Regions from separate parts of the Homo sapiens genome. Here region 2 is linked to region 1. Evidence: promoter capture Hi-C in human tissues and cell types (Jung and others, 2019). All regions are on one chromosome and are shown on one strand. The core of a region is centred on a gene start or on the middle of the fragment in contact, and the rest is flanking DNA. Distances in the headings are between cores, read along the strand shown. Region 1 holds the start of SMTNL2 (smoothelin like 2). Region 2 holds the start of ALOX15 (arachidonate 15-lipoxygenase).

What was found. Contacts are between HindIII fragments. The study calls those that stand out against the background at their distance.
Region 2: the fragment with the promoter of ALOX15 here is called in contact with the fragment with the promoter of SMTNL2 in region 1 in 9 of the 25 tissues and cell types used here (IMR-90 fibroblasts, bladder, dorsolateral prefrontal cortex and 6 more).

What each region holds. Positions count from the first base shown.
Region 1 is chr17:4,583,198-4,585,926 of GRCh38, reverse strand. SMTNL2 (smoothelin like 2) reads right to left here and starts at 1,398. Exons shown (of 8, transcript NM_001114974.2): 1 at 923-1,398. The coding sequence starts at 1,321. RefSeq lists enhancers at 1-419, 1,040-1,659, 1,660-2,279. The HindIII fragment of the contact is 15,336 bases long and covers 1-2,729 here.
Region 2 is chr17:4,640,371-4,643,099 of GRCh38, reverse strand. It overlaps ALOX15 (arachidonate 15-lipoxygenase), which reads left to right and starts at 1,422. Exons shown (of 14, transcript NM_001140.5): 1 at 1,422-1,583. The coding sequence starts at 1,449. The HindIII fragment of the contact is 22,491 bases long and covers 1-2,729 here.

The DNA of each region.
Region 1 (2,729 bases), core at 149-2,648:
GACCTCCAGGGGGAAGGCCCAATCTGATACCCTCCTCCAGGCCCCCTAGGGTCCAGCCCAGCCCACAGCGGGAAATCTGAGAGCCCCAGGGATTGCACCAAGGAGGGAGCAGGTGCAGGCTACACAGCCCCAGATCCTGGGAACCCAACCCGAGAGCACATGCCTGATCAGGATGGAAAATCCCACCCAAGGGCCACTGCACACACCATGGACACATTCTAACTGCTCTGGGTGGCCCATGCGCAAGGTAGTGACTGGTCCACGTCGGCCTCCGCCCTATCCCCACGTGGTGTGGGCCTCTGGCTAGTCACTGACCCGAGGAATCTAGACACGGCTCAAGGCGGGTTTCCACCTCTCTCCCTTCACGGTAAGGGATTTACCCCCTGCGATGGAGAGTTCCCAAAAGCCGCTGCTGATCGCGTCCCCCTCGACCCCCCTCCCCACCCATCCAGGGGCCTGAGTTCTCAATCTGAGTTAATCAATAACCAGAGCCGTCAGGCCTCAGTGAAGCGGCAACGCAGGGGAGCGTGAATGGAGGGTGGGGGTCAGGCAGGGGTGTCGACCATTCCAACATGCCCCGCGTGGCTCCAGGCAGTGCTGAACAGTCAGGGGCCGGACTTCGGCGCCCAAGCCGTTGATGTCATGGGACAGAGGAGAGAGGGAGACAGGACTCTGAGCAAACAGAGCCTGGCTCTAAAACAGGGCGGAGGACCAAGACAGGTGCAGCTGGCAGGCTCAGCGGTCCTCCCCCCGCCCTCTCCAACTCCGGAGGGGCGGCAGGACCCCCATCACCTAGTCCGAGCGGCCGGTGAAGGCCCCAACCCCGCAGACGCGAGCAGAGGCAGGCAGTCGGGGCGAAGGGGCGGCACCCGGTTCGGAGCCCCACTCCCTGGCGCCAGCGCACGCGCTCCCCCGGGCTCACCTGGCCGCGGCCGGACAGCGAGAAGGTGGCGTGGCTGGCGAAGCGTGCGCTGCCCAGGCGGGGCGCGCGGTCGGGAACCCCGGGCGCGGGCGGGGGGCTGGGCGTGCCGGGAGTGCCGGGCACCGGGGACATCCCGCTGGCCAAGCCCAGCGCCTCCACCTGGCGCGTCAGGCGCTCGAGCTGCGCCTGCAGCCGCTGGTTGTCCCGCTGCAGGTCGGCCACCGTGCGCGCCAGGGGGCCGGCCAGGCGCATCGCCTCTGCCACTCGCCGCTCCACGCCGCGCTGCAGCCCCCGCATGTCCTCGTGCAGCGCGCGCACCGCACCCTCCAGCGCCGCCTCGTAGCGGCCCAGCGCCTCGCGCACAGTGCGCGCCTCCTGGGCGTCGGGGGCCGGCTCCATGGCCCAGCAGAGCGCGCGGGTCGAGAGCGGGCCAGACGGGGGAGAAGATCCGAGCTCCGCAGCTCCGGGCCGCGACTGGCCGTCCGTGGCTGGCTTCGCTCGAGGGGCTGCCGGGGAGGCGGGCGCGGGGCGGGGCCTCGGGGGCGGAGCCGGGGACGACTCCGGGACACCCCCCTGCCCTGGAGCCCAGCGGGACGGTGCGGAGGGAGAGCTCGCCCAGCCTCTCCCCTCCCCGGCTCTTAACTGAGCCCTGCGACCCCGGAGGAGCGGCGTGCGGCCTGCGGGAGGGGCGGCGGGCCCACCCGAAGAAGGCCCTGGCCCCCCTGGACCGTAGAGAGCACACCCGGGCTGACGCGTTCGCTCGGGACTCTCACCCGCAAGGCCCAGGTTCCTCCGGGGGCGGAGACTCCCGGGCTAATGGGGACACCTACAGCTCCCACAGCTGCCGCCCCACTCCGCGGGGCCCTCCCTATGCAGCGGCCACGGCTCTCGCAGGCACACGCTCACCTGTGGGACCTTCGCCTGGAATTTCTTGTATCTGTTCTAAGACCTCAGGGAGGAGACAGGTGGTGAGGTCCCCTCCCTGACTCTGCGACTACGCGCTGTCCCCTCCCAGTCCTACTCTGTATAGCAAGATCTTCGTGCCCTTCCCACTAGTGGTCGGTAGAGGCTCCCGACCCACCAAGGGGCCTCCGTTAGGAGATCCTGGAGAGGCTAAGGGCAGACAGAGAAAGAAGGGTGTGCTGGAGCTGCATCTCCAAATCCTGGAATGGGCGGCTTTGCGACTAATCGCCCCCTCCCGCAATGAGAGTCTCAGTCACTGGCCTCTACCCGTAGGCCAGGGGTCTTACCCCTATTCCTTCTCAATGCTCTTTATGGCTGAACCCAGATAGTTCCCCCTTCCAAATGCACACCCCAAACCATCACCAGAAAAGGGAAGAAGGGAAACAGGTGTTGCTTTAGGACGATGGGATGATGGGCAAAGCTAACTCTAAGTTTTCGCTATATCATAAAGCTGATTTAAAATAAAAATGAGAACATATCCTCCTTTGTGCAAAAAACCTTTCCTAATTGGCCTTCTTTTTCCCAAGCCTGGCCTGCCTGAAAGAGGCCCAGAGGCTGGGCATGCATAGCCAGCTGACCTGCAGGAAGGAGAAGTCTGAAAGGCTTGTTCATATCATGTTCTGCTCCCAAGGTTGTTTGGAGCCCACAAACCCTCCTGGACTGGCCATCATTGCCCCAAAGGAACTGGAGCAGCCTGACAGATGCTAAATGCTGGTTCTCTCCCCCGCCCCCAGCCCCAAGGGGACAGGAAGGAACGCTGGGTTACCTAATCCAAGGAGCCTTCCAGCAATTATTTCATGAAAAAGGCAAATGCCAAAAGGTGTGCATGCTGCATATATGTGTG
Region 2 (2,729 bases), core at 173-2,672, 57 kb before region 1:
CGGGCTCACATTAGTGGGGGATACACACATACAAATGCTCACACTGCAGTATTAACTGTGCAACAGTAGAAGTGTGCGCAAGGAGAAAAGTGTTAGAAAGGAAAGCTGGGCCGGGCGCCGTGGCTCACACCTGTAATTCCAGCACTTTGGGAGACTGAGGTGGGTGGATCACAAGGTCAGGAGTTCAAGACCAGCGTGGCCAACATGGAGAAACCCCGTCTCTACTAAAAATACAAAAATTATCCAGGCATGGTGGCAGGCGCCTGTAATCCCAGCTACTCGGAAGGCTGAGGCAGAGAATTGCTTGAGCCCGGGAGGCAGAGGTTGCCGTGAGCCGAGATCGTGCCATTGCACTCCACCCTGCATTCCAGGGTGACAGAGTGAGACTCTATATCTCAAAAAAAAAAAAAAAAGGAAAGCTAATTCACTCTGGTGGGGTGGTGGGGGGTGAAAGTACCGGGTAAGACTTTCCTGAGAAACCGGAGGTGAACTAGGGTTTAGAAGCATGAATAGATGAATAGACTAATCCAGGAGCAAGTTCTTTTGAGAGAACAGCAGGTGGGGTTCTGGGGAACACATGGCTCCAGCCCAAAAAGAAACTGGAGACGAATTAGGGTTTAGAAGCATGACCAGACTAACCCAGAAGTGAGTTCTTTGAGAGAACAGCAGGGGCGGCGGGGGGAGGGGGGGTTCCGGGGAACACATGGCTCCAGCACAGGAGATGCCAGGGTGCAGTGGGATGAGAGGTGAGGAGAGCAGGTCAGGTTAGCAAGGGCATTGAATGCCAGAAACATTTGGACTTTTATTCTGCAGGCAACAGGGAGGCAGCGGCTTTTATGCTCAAAAGGAATGAGTCCCAGTGGCTGGCACAGAGAAGGCAAGTGTGCAAAGCTGGTCGAATGAATTCCGTGGCCTGAATGTACCTTCCTCAAATGCCACTGCAAACTGGGTCTCCTCGCCCACTTCACCCTCTCCTGCAATCCAACTTGTGAGGCTTGTGTGTGCGCGCGCGTGTCCTTGCGTGTGTGTGTGTGTGCACGCGTGCGTTTAGATGGAGGTTGGCTTCCCAGCCACCCAGGCTTGGCCCAAAGTCCGTGGTACACACGTGCATAACTCCTACCCCCACCTCGCCTGCCTGCTGTACCAGGCGTTGATTCCCTCTTCCTGCGTGTTTTCGGTCCAAATCCTTTTCTTTTTCTCCCTCCCGTCAAGATAGTGGTTTCCACTCCCTGCTCTCGCCAGGACACCGCCTTTTGGACTGGGGCTGAATTCTGCCCCTTGAAGCTCTGCTCCTTGGAGCTGGGGGCCCCAGCGGTAGGCGGAGTTGATTGGAGACCTGCCACCCACATTCCGACCCCAAGCGACCTCCGAGAGGGCGGGGTCTCAGGCTGGGTTATTTAGCTCGTCCACCCTTCTCCACCAGAAGGAGCGAAACATCTTTGAGCAAGATGGGTCTCTACCGCATCCGCGTGTCCACTGGGGCCTCGCTCTATGCCGGTTCCAACAACCAGGTGCAGCTGTGGCTGGTCGGCCAGCACGGGGAGGCGGCGCTCGGGAAGCGACTGTGGCCCGCACGGGGCAAGGTGAGCTCCCCAGAGCCGGGCGGGGTGGGCTGCGCCCCTGGCTCCGAGTCAGTCAAATACCGGGGAGGACATGCGCCCCCGTTGGCCTCTGGCCGATTCTCTTTGCCAAGGGCCCGCGCATTGGGCTCAAAGCGCGCGGAGGCCACGGGGGTGGGGGGCTTTAGGGCAGTCGGTGGCACACAGTAAGCGCTCAATAAATGTTGCCGCTACCCGATCTCCTTGGAATTGAGGGCATGCTCCTGTGCGCCCCTCATTGCACAAAGCTCCCTTGTCTGGAAACTCAGCAGTCACTGGAGCCGCCGTCGGTCCTCTCGCTTTCTCTATTTTAAAAACCGTTTCAACCGCTAGCGCTGTTGGATCTCTACCTTTCAGGCTTTATCACCTGGGGTGGAGTGGGTGGTGAGAGGGAAGGGATGGGGAGTCAAGACAGGAGAACGCTCTCGATTTCCCGACCCACCTCCCGTCATATCTCATGTCACATCTACCGGGTGTTCTACCCGGTCCTGTTAACTTTTTTTCTTCCGCGAAAGCCCAAATTCCCATCACTGCTCTAGCTCTCTCCCAGATCCCCAAATCCGGATGTCTGTCTCAGGGAACGTCAAAGCAACATGCCCGGATGAGGTCCTCCCCTCTCCCCACCTCCCAGCCCTCTCCTCCTGCCTCCCCCGGTGTCACCCGCGCCTCCTTCCTCTCTTCACCTCCCTCTAAACAAGAATCCGGCGCAGTCAGTTCTAGACCCTGAGCATCTCCCGCGTCCCTGCCCAATATCCGTCCCGCCCCCGACCGCCCGCGTCCTCTTGAACCTGCGGAGCCCTGCTCCCCGCACTCCACGCCCTTGCTCCGAGCTTCCGAGAAAGCGGGGCAAAGGGAGCCAGGAAGAGAGAAAATGCGCACGGAGCAGGTGGCCCCGCGACTCCATGGTGAGGGGACGGGGCACGGAAGGTGGAAAGGCGCGCTCCCTCCTCCCTTTTTTCCTCCCTATGGTGGGCAGTTGGTGACACACAGTAAAGGCTCAATAAATGTTCCCGCTACTCGATCTCCTTGGAATTAAGGGGATGCTCCTGAGCGCCCCTCATTCCACACAGCTCTGGTGCCTGGAAACTGCGGTCGCCGGAGCGGTCGTCGGTCCTCCCGGTTTCTCTATTT